Linked DNA regions of Homo sapiens: all the other regions are linked to region 3. Evidence: promoter capture Hi-C in 16 types of primary human blood cells and fetal thymus (Javierre and others, 2016). All regions are on one chromosome and are shown on one strand. Each heading gives the region's core, a stretch centred on a gene start or on the middle of the fragment in contact. The rest is flanking DNA. Distances are from core to core; before and after follow the strand shown.

Region 1 (2,700 bases), core at 109-2,608, 710 kb after region 3:
TTCCAATTCATTTGGGTAAATACCAAGGAACACAATTGCTAAATCACATGGTAAGATTGTGTTTAGCTTTGTAAGAAATTGTCACACTGTCTTCCAAAGACAGCATATCATTTTGCATTTTTACCATTGCTCCACAATAGTAAGAGTTCCCATTGCTCCACATTTTTGCCAACATATAGTGTTTTCAGTTTTTTACTTTAGCCAGTCTCATAGGTGTGTAGTAGTATCTTGTTTTAATTGGCAATTTCCATGAGTTACAATATATGATGTTGAACATCTTTTCATATGCTAATTTGCCATCTGTATATCTTCTTTGGTGAGGTGTCTGTTTAGAGCTTTGCTCATTTTTAAATCGGGTTGTTTTTCCATTGTTGAGTTTTTTGGTATGTTCTGGATACAAGTACTTGATGAGGTATGTGTTTTGCAAATATTTTCTCTCAGTCTATGGTTTTTTTTTTTTTTTTTTCCACTCTTTTAACAGTGTCTTCGACAGACCAGAAGTTTTTAAAAATCAAGACATTTCACATAGCAATCTGGCTTTCTGGCTTCTCTTGGAAGTGCATCTGGTAACACTGGGACCCATGCCTGCAGGGCTAAAGCCACTGGCGGCTGCCTCTGTGGACAGCCAGCTCTCCCCAGTTCTCCAGAGCTGCATCCCTCCCACTTCACTCAGCTGCATTACCTGCCTGGCCCCCTGAGATATATGCCTGGGATGACTCTGGTCTAGAGAAAGCTTCTCCTTTCTACAGTGGGTTTCACATAGGTATGCCTTGAGTAAAACCATCTGATGCTTTAAAAGAAAAGTTTAAACATGACTGGCTTAGATGATCTTCCTGCTCTTTCCAATCAGTCTTACCCTTCCATTGTCACATTCAACTTGAACGAGAGGAGAGGCAATTTCATAAACTCTCTCTCTGTGGCCTGTTGTGCTCACTCCAATCCATGTCATGGAGTATGATGCCTACATGAAGGTCACCACCACCAATGCCACTGTGCTTACCAGAAGTGCCTCACACCAGCTGGATCAATAAGAAGAAAACCTTCACATGCAGCTGCCTTCTATATGGGGATGGGGGTAAAGTCATCTCATACAGCACAAGTATCTTAAACCCCAAATCACCTCGAGGTATGGAAAATAGACATTTGCTATAGGTTGGTTCATTTGACCCTTCCAAGTCTCATGTTGAAATTTGATCCCCAATGTTGACAGTGGGACTTAATGGAAGGTGTTTGGATCATGGAAGTAGATCCCTCATGGATGGCTTGGTGCCATCCTCGTGGTAATGAGTGAGTTCTCACTCTATTAGTTCCCACGAGAACCAGTTGTTAAAAAAAGAGCCTGGCACCTCCCTCCCCTTTCTTGCTTCCTCTGTTGCCATGTAATCTCTGCACATGCCAGCTCCCCTTTGCCTTCTACCGTGAGTGGAAATTTCCTGAGGCCCTCACCAGAAGCAGATGCTGGTGCCATGCTTCTTATACAGCCTGCAAAACCAAGAGCCAAATAAATATCTTCTTTATAAATTACTCAGCCTCAGGTATTCCTTTATAGTAACACAAATGGACTAAGATGGCATCTTTATAGACAGGAACCACTCTTGCCACAGAAAGATGCTCTTGCATGAAGGCACATGAGAACTGAGACCAGGAGAAAACAGCAGATTGGAGCCACAGATTTCTGCCTCTCAGCTCATACTCATTCTGAGGCATAAACCTATTGAGTAGGGTGGTGGGCTAACTCTCAGCATTATCTAAATTTCTGTCTCTCTCTTTGTCCCCTGAATTGGTGTAGTCAACTTTCTTTAAGGAGTATGTGTTTGGCATGACTCAGTTTTCACCAGGGTCGCTAATGCATCTGAAAGCTGCCTCTTGAGTTCTAAAAAGCATCAGTAAAGACAAATCAAAAGGGCCTAGCCCAAACTTCACAACAAATTAGAGGTGAGGTAATGATTTTTATATAAGTTCCTTGTCCCCTGGCCAAGCTTGGTATCTTATCGTGTATACTTGTTGAAGTTACATATGTAGAGGACAATGTTAATTTGCTAGGGCTTATATGACAAAGTTCCACAAACTGGGTGGCTTATATGACAGAAATTTATTGACCCACAATGCTGGAAGCTAGAAAACCAAAATCAAGGTGTTGGCAGGATTGTTCCTTCTGGGGGCTCTGAGGGAAGGAGGCGTTCCAGGCCTTTCTCCTTGGCTTGTAGACGACTGTCTTCTCCATGTCTCTTCACATAACCTTCACTCCATGGGTGTCTCTGGGTGCAAATTTTCCTTTTTTATAAGGATGCCAGTATATTGAATTGGGGTTCACTCTAATACCTCATTTTAACTAATTACATCCACGATAATCTGATTTCCAAGTAAGGTCACATTTTGAGGTATAGGGAGTTAGGACTTCAACCTATGAATTTGTAAGGGGAGCATAATTCAACCTATAATAAGGCCTCTAGGGTAGGAGGACAAAAATCCCTTGTCTCCATCAGTCAGTCAACTCATGGGGAAATATAGGTCTTGGGAAAGTGAATTAATAAGGAAAGTCCATAAAAGCAAACCTTAATGATGGCATTCCCAACGTTCTTCATTCTTCCAGAATCTTTCTCTTCTTTTTGAGATAACATAGTCATGGTAGAAACAAAGAGGTGCTAAAAATCAATGGAAGATTATTGAAAGTCTCAAAACTCTTCTCCAGTCTTCCCC
Region 2 (2,700 bases), core at 163-2,662, 620 kb after region 3:
GAATAGTATAGGAGGACCACCTGGGAACTAGATGCTTAATGTGCTATCCTGGAGTTTTAGATGAGAAGCATCAAATACGTTTAGCCATGTTATAGGCCAAAAGGTAACTGTTGTATAGGATTGTGAACCAGAAGTCAGTTAAGTATTTGGGATGTGGTTTCAGAATAAATGGTCTGTAGCTCTTCTTTCTGGCAGTGACTGGAGAGCAGGGCCTGTTGTCTATTAAGGCCACTCCTAGTTCATGAAAATAAAACCATGTCAACTTCAGATAAAAGAATGTTTATCTTTCTGTTCTCCTAGGAGGGAATTGGAGGGGCCAGGCTGGGAAAGTGTCTTGTTGATCCAAATGTGGTAGCATATCATTGATGTTTCAATGGAAAAAGAAAAGTGTGTTCAACATTCATCTATTGTTTCTCCTCATGGCAAATGAGGATTAAGGCAGTTCTGCATTTATTCATAATGATATCCCTAGCACCAGTCTAGTGCCAGGCCATAGTATGTGATCAATAACTATTTATTCAATGATCAATGGTGCCTGCTCCTTTAAAAGACTGCCCTGCTAACCTCATTCTCGTGTAATGTCAAGATGGTAGTTCTCTATCCGCATTGGAATAGAGCCTTTGGCTGGCCAAGCTGGGTCCCAGGTGTTGGTAGTGTAGACAAGCCCACTTTTCACCCCTTATTTGCATCTGTTTGTGACTGTTACTTTAATTGCATGGGTAACATTTTCTTTGGGAAAGAGGCAGAAGGAAAAGGGAGCTATTGGGTAAAATGCAGGAACAGCTATTTTGAGTCTGGTCTGGCAGAGAGGGTTTGAAGCCACGCCTGGAGGAATGAGAGTTGGAGCACAGGAGAGCTGTTCTCCTGAGAAGGTGAGATTCTGGCATGGATCTGCTGCTTTGGGGCCCACGTGATCCCATAGCCACAGAAGCTTCTATCCTTCTCTTTCCTGCAAGGATCCACAATCTCCTCTGGGCACATAACAGATGGCAGCCTGGGTGGGAAATGGCACTCTGGGGATGCTCACTGTCCTGGGGCAGCAGGGCCTCCTTTAGGCAGCTCTATGGGAGCCATAGAGGAAGGACGGGAAGGAGATGCAGGAGAGGAAAGAAATGCAGGCACCTGGTGCCCACTGACGCTCTAACAACAAACTGCAGGATCGTGCAAGCTCCTTTATGGAGCGCATGCAGTGTTCAAAATCATAGCTTGTTGTGTGTGTGTGTGTGTGTGTGTGTGTGTGTGTATGTATAATCACCAGCTGGTGAGACCTGGGGTATATTTATTTGTGCTCCAAATTACTACCTTTGTACCTACAAGCAACCAAGCACAAAACAGATACCCACTTTGGTAGCTAATAGACAAGGAAGGGACAACAAACTCCACACCAAAAAGTCATCTATAATTCTAAACAGATTTATTCACAGCTTGGTACAAAGAATGGTCTTTGTGTCAAATAAAAATCCCAGGTTTGAATAATGATAACAATAATAATAACAGCAGACACTTTTCCACAGTGTTCCCTGTGTGAAAGGTACAATTCTGAGTAATTTATACGTTTTAAATAATTAATTTAATCCTCCCAACAGTCCTATGAGATAGGGTATCTTACTACAGCCACTCTACAGAAGAGGAAACTGAGGCACAGAGAAGTTAGGTAACTTGGTCAAAATCACACAACCAGTATGCGGCAGAGTTGGGATTCAAACCCAAGAAGATGGCTTTATACCATCATGAGATATGATAAAGATATCATCTTTATTGAGGTATAATTTACATACCATAAAACTCACCCTTTAAAGTGTATAATTCAGCAATTTTTAGTATGTTCAAAATTGTACAACCCTCACCATTATCTAATTTTAGAACACTTTTATCACCCCAAAAGAAGCTTGATATCCATTAGCATTACTCCCCATTCCTCCTTCCCCCTCCTTGTAACCGCTAATCTACCTTCTGTCTCTACAAGTTTGCCTATTCCGCGTTGCACATAAATGGAATCGTATAATACGTAGTCATTGTGTCTGGCTTGTTTTTCACTTAGCAAGATCCTTTCAAGGCTCAGCCATGGTCTGGTATGTATCAGAATGTCAGTCCTTTTTACGGTCAAATGATATCCCATTGTATAGATACAACATTTTGCTTGTCCATTCATTAGTTGATAGACATTTGGGTTGTCTCCACTTTGTGGCTCTGATAAGTAATGTTCCTATGAACCAACTAAATTGTATTTAAAAAAATAAAACCAGAATATATTTCACATATGATAACTAATAAGCTAATTTTCTGGGAGATTCAAGGATTGCCTTTCTAAAGCCAGGCAGGCACTCCTGTGCCTATCTGTATTTAAGGAGCTGATAAAAGTGGCAGAGATTATGCCAGATGATGCATATAAAAGTGCTTTCTAAAACTTTAAAGCATCAGTCCAAATATTGGTCATGAATAACATGAGCTTGTCCAACGACTTGAGAGTTCAAGTTAGAGGATAGTTAGATGGCTAATTGAGGTTTTATTGTTAAAAACACTATTTATTTTAAAAGGTTCTATGCTGTATTAACTGGGAGGCAGGCAAAGGGCCCACTTTGTGTCCATAGCCAGTCACAATGAGCTGTTCCACAAATGTCATTGTGGGTCCCAGGGATACTAGTTTCTCTGCTACTATATTCCTCTTTCCTATTTGGTATTCACTTTTGATATCTTATT
Region 3 (2,700 bases), core at 166-2,665:
GATGTTTTTGGCACAAAGTGTACGTTAGTTAGATGATGATGATTAAGCTCCCCCCCCACCCCCGCCCCATTCTTGCGGCCGGGGAGTGTGTTTTGCCTGTATTTAAGAAATATCGTTCAGCTGCAGGCGTGTGCGCGCTTAGGCTGTAGTCGGCGTTTCTGAGTCTCCAGGGCAGGGTGACTTGGGTCGGCTGAGTGTCACCCACAGATGTGACTGTTCTTTCCCCCGCGGGCGCGACAGCCTCCTTCCTCTCCAGCCCGAGGCCCGCGGCCCAGACCACGGGAAAGGGAAGGAAGCCCTCGCCGCAAGCCGGCGTCTGGGCCGGCACAAAACGCTCCGCCACCAGAAAAACTTTTTTCCCCCAGCTGCGCGCAACTTTTGGCCTTTTCTCCCAGCACGTTCGCGTCCCAGGTTTCTGTCCGCTGGGTTTTCCTCCGCCTCACTCGCCTTCTCCCCAGCGGCGCGCGGAGGAGCTGGGCTGAGAGGGTCGCGGGGAGCCGGGTCGGCCGCGGCTGGGACGCTGGGGAAGGGGCAGGGGAGGAGGGGGCGTGCGGGGCTGGGGAGGAGGAACTGGTCAAAGGGGACAGAGACGCCCGAGTGCCCGAAAAGGAAAGAGCTGCCGCGGTTTGCTGCAGTCGGAATAAAGTTCGCGCCCTTTCCTCGGCGTTTCGCAGCCTCCTCTCCTTGCTCCGCTCCCCACCCCCGCCCCGCAATTTTTTTTTGTGTGTGTGTGACAGCTGGGCGCTAGCGGCCACCTCTACCTCCACGCCCGCAGCTCCCCGGGGGGGGGGGGGGGCGCCAGGGTTGTTTTTCCATCCCCACAAAGTTGTTTTTTCCATCCCCAGAAAGAGAGAGCAAGAACAACCCAAACAACAAACAAGCCCCCAAAGAAGTCACGGGGCGGTGGGGGGAGGGAGAAACATACATCCTCCTTCCCCAAGCCCCTGGACCTCTGAGGACAAACAACACAACGACCGACTTTTATTTTGCAAAAGGGAAGCAACATTGTAGTCACGACAATTCTGCAGAGAGAGGAAAAACTTGTGGGGCTTGCACGGCCGCCGAGGTCACCTCGCCCGCCGGTCCCCCGCCTCCCGCGAGCAGGGCAGCCCCCTCCCGGGACAAGCCGTTCCCTTTTTTTTTTTTTTTGTCCCGAGGAGGAGCCGGGGAACCGTGCCGGCTGGGACTCGGGGCGCGAGCGCGACCCCGGCGCGAGTGTAAATCAGTCACCTGAGCGCAGAGGGGCCGCGGCGAGGGCGCGCGCGGGCGGGCGGGGAGGCGGAGGCGGCGAGAGCGGAGGCCCGGAGGAACTCGGAGGGGGAGGGAGAGAAAGGCCGAGACGGAGGGAGCCAGCGGCGGCCGAGGGGCTGGTCCAGGCGCGGCCGCTAAGAGGAGACCAAGAGGCGGGGGCTGCACTTGACAACCAGCATGCCGAGATGGTAAGAAGTTTCCACCCTCCTTCCTCTTTTATTCTAGACTTCCTCAGAAATGACCCCCGCGCCCGAGCGCCACCGGGGCCGCCCGGGGGCCGTGTCCGCCCTCCGGCCCGCGGCGTGAGGGGCAAGGGGCGCTGAGGAGGGCGGGCCGGGGACCAGAACCCCGGTCCGACCTGATCCCCGCTGCGCTCCCAGTGGCCTCCCCTAAACTTGGCCCCAAGTTTCTGAGGCGAGCTCTAGGTGGGAGGGTGCACGTGAGAGGGGGCTTCTCAAGGTCGGCCCCGCTCGCGGCTTCCGCGCGAAGGTGAGCGGCTGGCTAGGGGAGGCTCCAGGGCGTTGGGGACGGGCTGGGGGGACGAGGTGGAGGGGAGTGGGGGATGAATGGAGCGCTGGCAGGAGCTCGGGGAAGAGAGGAAGGCGGCTGGGACCTACGGGAACTTTTACAACTTGCCGCCGAGTGAGGGACCGGCGGCTGGGCGTGGGTGCCGGGTGCGCTGGGGCGCAGCCGCCCGGGCCCGGCACGTTGACTCTTCCTCTCCCCTTGTCTTCACATTCGGAATCTTCCCGTGGTAAATGGAGATGGGAGGAAATGCTCCCGCAGGCTTTACGGAGAAGGTGCAGAACGCAGGGCAGGAAAATCAACCTTGCAGAGACGGCTCTTTTCGAAGTGCAATTCTATAGGAGCCGATTTGTTTTACTTGCACGTTGACTGGAGGGTGGGATTTGGGGCCTGGGGAGGGAGCAGAATAAAAAATTATATATGCTGAAAAACCCTAGGTGAAATCTCCTGTGAAGTGAGTTTAAGGTTGAAAAAAAGTTCCAAGTGCAAGTGGTGGAGGAGATGGGCTGGCTTTGCCAAGCGAGACTCCAGCACAGCCCCTCTACGAGAAGCGACTTCTTTGCAGCGAGGAAGCGTGCAATTAGTTCGCCTGGTGATGAGCCGCTCTGTCCGCTTTCGGGGAAGTGATTTGTTAGAAATGGGGCTTGACCACTCCCTTCTTTTTAGTTTGCTTCCTCCCAGCGTCGCTATTGTTACCCCCACTTGGGGATCTGACATGGTGTATTCCGTATATAGAGGGAACATATGAGAATACAGGTGAGATAGCGGGTTGGCATTTTTTCCTCTTCCCTGCTCCCTAATGTGACATCTCTTGTTTCAGTGATCAAAGTCACAACTGGAGTGTAGGAGATGGGACTGTCAAATGCAGGGGCGCGTACACACACACACACACACAAAAGCAAGAGCCCAGGACTGTGGTTACAG
Region 4 (2,700 bases), core at 42-2,541, 590 kb before region 3:
TCAAAGTGATATATGAAGATAATCAAAAGCATAAAAATGATAAGAAAAAAATCTTATACTTCAATAAACAAATGCAAACTCTTGTAATGAAACTAAATTAGCCATAATATCTTCTAATTTAATATAATTTGAGATTCAATCCACACAGCTGTTTAGCATAAGTTGATGAACTATTAAGTATAAAATGGTAGATGCTGTGAGAACCACTGCTACTGCTGCTGCTGCTGCTGCTACTACTAAAACAAGAATGACAATAGCTAACATGTATCGAAGGCTTACAATGTTCCAGTCACTGTTATAAGTGCTTTACATGTATTAACTCATTTATTCCTCGTAAGAACCTAATTTAATATTATTAAATTTAGGCATAGGCCTAGTAGGTAGGGAAGCCAGGATTCAAAGAGTGTTAATCTAGAGCCCTGTTAAACAATAAGCAAGACTTACTCTTAATTGATAAATAAACTTCAAAATATTATCAGTTAAAAAATTAACCAAGCTTTTTGTCTAATGCTTTTATCTATTCATATCACTTTTAAGTGCTCTTCACTTATAATGAGGTCTACAGGTGTGTTTGTGAGATACATATATCTCAAATGTATCAGTGACAACTGGAATTCTATCTAAACATCTTACTATTTCTAAGCAATAGTGTAGCTTTGAAAGATACAGAAAGAAAATAATTTTGATTCAGTGGGATAGAGCATTTAAAATCTTTGTACTGATAAACACAAGAGTACAAACTTCCATAACCTCCAGTTATTTTAAACACAAACAAAACTTTCCTTTTTTTACCTTAGCTTTATAAGCTTAGGCATTAAATCCAATACAAATACTAATCATATATTTGGGGGGCCAAATAACCACCACGTTGTAAAGTTTTTCATTCATTGTCTCGAAGCCATTAATTTGTATTTATTCAAAATTAAATATGTTTAATAACGGAAATTTAACTTCATCATTATCTAATTTAAAAAAGTAAATAGCTTGCCATTAATCATGCTATACATAGTATTCCTTAAACTTTCATCTTAGGTAGGTTTAAATATGAACTAGGGAAGGAAAACGTAAACATTAGCAGTTTCTTGGAGCACGTTTAATAGAGCTGGTTGCCACTAGGTGGCACCAAATACAATGGATAGAAATACAAAAACCATACTTTTCATGCATTTCCTTTATGTGTTCTTCTTTTGCTAGGAGTTCAAATTTCAAAGTCTTCACATTTGATGACTGTTTAGTGAGTTCATTAGTAGCATTCTAGATTAAAAATAGAAATAAATTTAAATATACCTTACAACCTTGGTCTAAGGCAGCATAAAAATAAGTGCCATTCTAAAGAAGAATACCTCTACAATAATTATGGTAAACAATAATTAAAATGAATATTTTAATATTTTAAATGCTTTATTTTATATGCTGTAATAGAAATAATAATACTAAAACTTTTATATAACATGCCAAACTATAGAGGAACACAATCATTTAAGAATTGCAAAGAGTATGTATCCAAAATACATTTACAGGAAATATGAGTTGTCCTGGTATAATGTAAATATGTGAATAATTAAGAATTTTAATGATTTAAGAAGATCACTTAAAACAAATACTGGATTTACTAACATCTTAGACGAAATATGGTCACAAATGCTTTGCTGCTCATCAAGCAGGGGAATCCATTTCCTAACCCACTGAACGTAGTCTGGCTTGTGACTTGCTTTGTCGAAAAGAATGCAGCAGAAATGAATTGTGTAAATTTCAGTTCCCAGGCCTTAAAGCTTTGTGGCTTCTCTCTTTCCCTTCTTGGAATGCTGCTCCAGGATCACCTTGCTAGGAATACAGTTGATGTATCATGTGGAAGTGTACCAAGGTACTCCAGCTGACAGGTAGTAGACCAATTGTCCGATCTATGAGTGAGGCTATTTTGTATCTTCCAACTAGGGAAATCTTTGGTTTGAAAAAATCCAGGGATATGAGGTAGCCCAGAAGAGACCAGCAAAAGAACTTCCCAGTCAACCCACAAAATCTTAAGAAATAATAAACTGTTGTTTTAAGCCACGATGTTTCGGGATAGTTTGTTAGAGAATAATGGTAACTGATAGAAAACCTCATGAATACTCAATCCTTCTTTACTTGAAGTTATTAATAATGCTACTTATTACATTATTTGTAAATAATTATTAGTTTTTCAAAGCAAAACATGTTTGTTCTGTGGTATTTGTTGTCAGTAGAGCCTAGGAACCAGAGGTGGTAACTAGAGTGTTAGAACACCTTTCAATTTTGACTCTAGTTCCAACTAAATGTGTAATCTAAGACATCACTTAGTCTTTTTGGTATTTAGTTTTTCCACACTCAAGATAGTGTTGACATACTCACATTAATCCATTTGTTAAGTTTTAAAGGTATTAAATGAATATAAATATAATAAAATATAATAGCTTTTAAAATATTTGGAGTAGTTATTTAGCTAATATTTCTAAACTACAATAAATTTTTTCTATTAGAACTATTCCTAGGTTTGGATGTTTGACTCATGCTAAAAATAATTTGAATTTGAAAAGATTAAACTATTAATTACCCAAGGTAAATGTAATTCATCAGACTGACTTTAAATATCTCATGGGTATAACATACAAATAAAACATTTGAAATAATTTTAATTTTTACATGAAACATTAATTTTTCTTAAAAACCCAAAGCTACCTC

What was found. Contacts are between HindIII fragments. The CHiCAGO score rates a contact against its expected background, and 5 or more counts as called.
Region 1: a contact is called between a fragment that was not itself captured here and the fragment with the promoter of BNC2 in region 3, in 2 of 17 cell types (endothelial precursors and M0 macrophages). The highest score is 5.9, in endothelial precursors.
Region 2: a contact is called between a fragment that was not itself captured here and the fragment with the promoter of BNC2 in region 3, in 2 of 17 cell types (M2 macrophages and M1 macrophages). The highest score is 7.2, in M2 macrophages.
Region 4: a fragment that was not itself captured here is called in contact with the fragment with the promoter of BNC2 in region 3 in 1 of 17 cell types (erythroblasts); the score reaches 6.3 in erythroblasts.

What each region holds. Positions count from the first base shown.
Region 1 is chr9:16,164,264-16,166,963 of GRCh38, reverse strand. No RefSeq gene overlaps it. Among named protein-coding and RNA genes, the nearest start is that of LINC03041, 110 kb to the left of the region's middle. The HindIII fragment of the contact is 1,246 bases long and covers 736-1,981 here.
Region 2 is chr9:16,248,377-16,251,076 of GRCh38, reverse strand. All of the region lies in intron 1 of LINC03041 (long intergenic non-protein coding RNA 3041), which reads left to right. Among named protein-coding and RNA genes, the nearest start is that of LINC03041, 27 kb to the left of the region's middle. The HindIII fragment of the contact is 957 bases long and covers 934-1,890 here.
Region 3 is chr9:16,869,385-16,872,084 of GRCh38, reverse strand. BNC2 (basonuclin zinc finger protein 2) reads left to right here and starts at 1,415. Exons shown (of 7, transcript NM_017637.6): 1 at 1,415-1,439. The coding sequence starts at 1,437. The HindIII fragment of the contact is 8,266 bases long and covers 1-2,700 here.
Region 4 is chr9:17,461,470-17,464,169 of GRCh38, reverse strand. CNTLN (centlein) reads right to left here. Exons shown (of 26, transcript NM_017738.4): 20 at 1,157-1,254. Among named protein-coding and RNA genes, the nearest start is that of SH3GL2, 120 kb to the left of the region's middle. The HindIII fragment of the contact is 966 bases long and covers 809-1,774 here.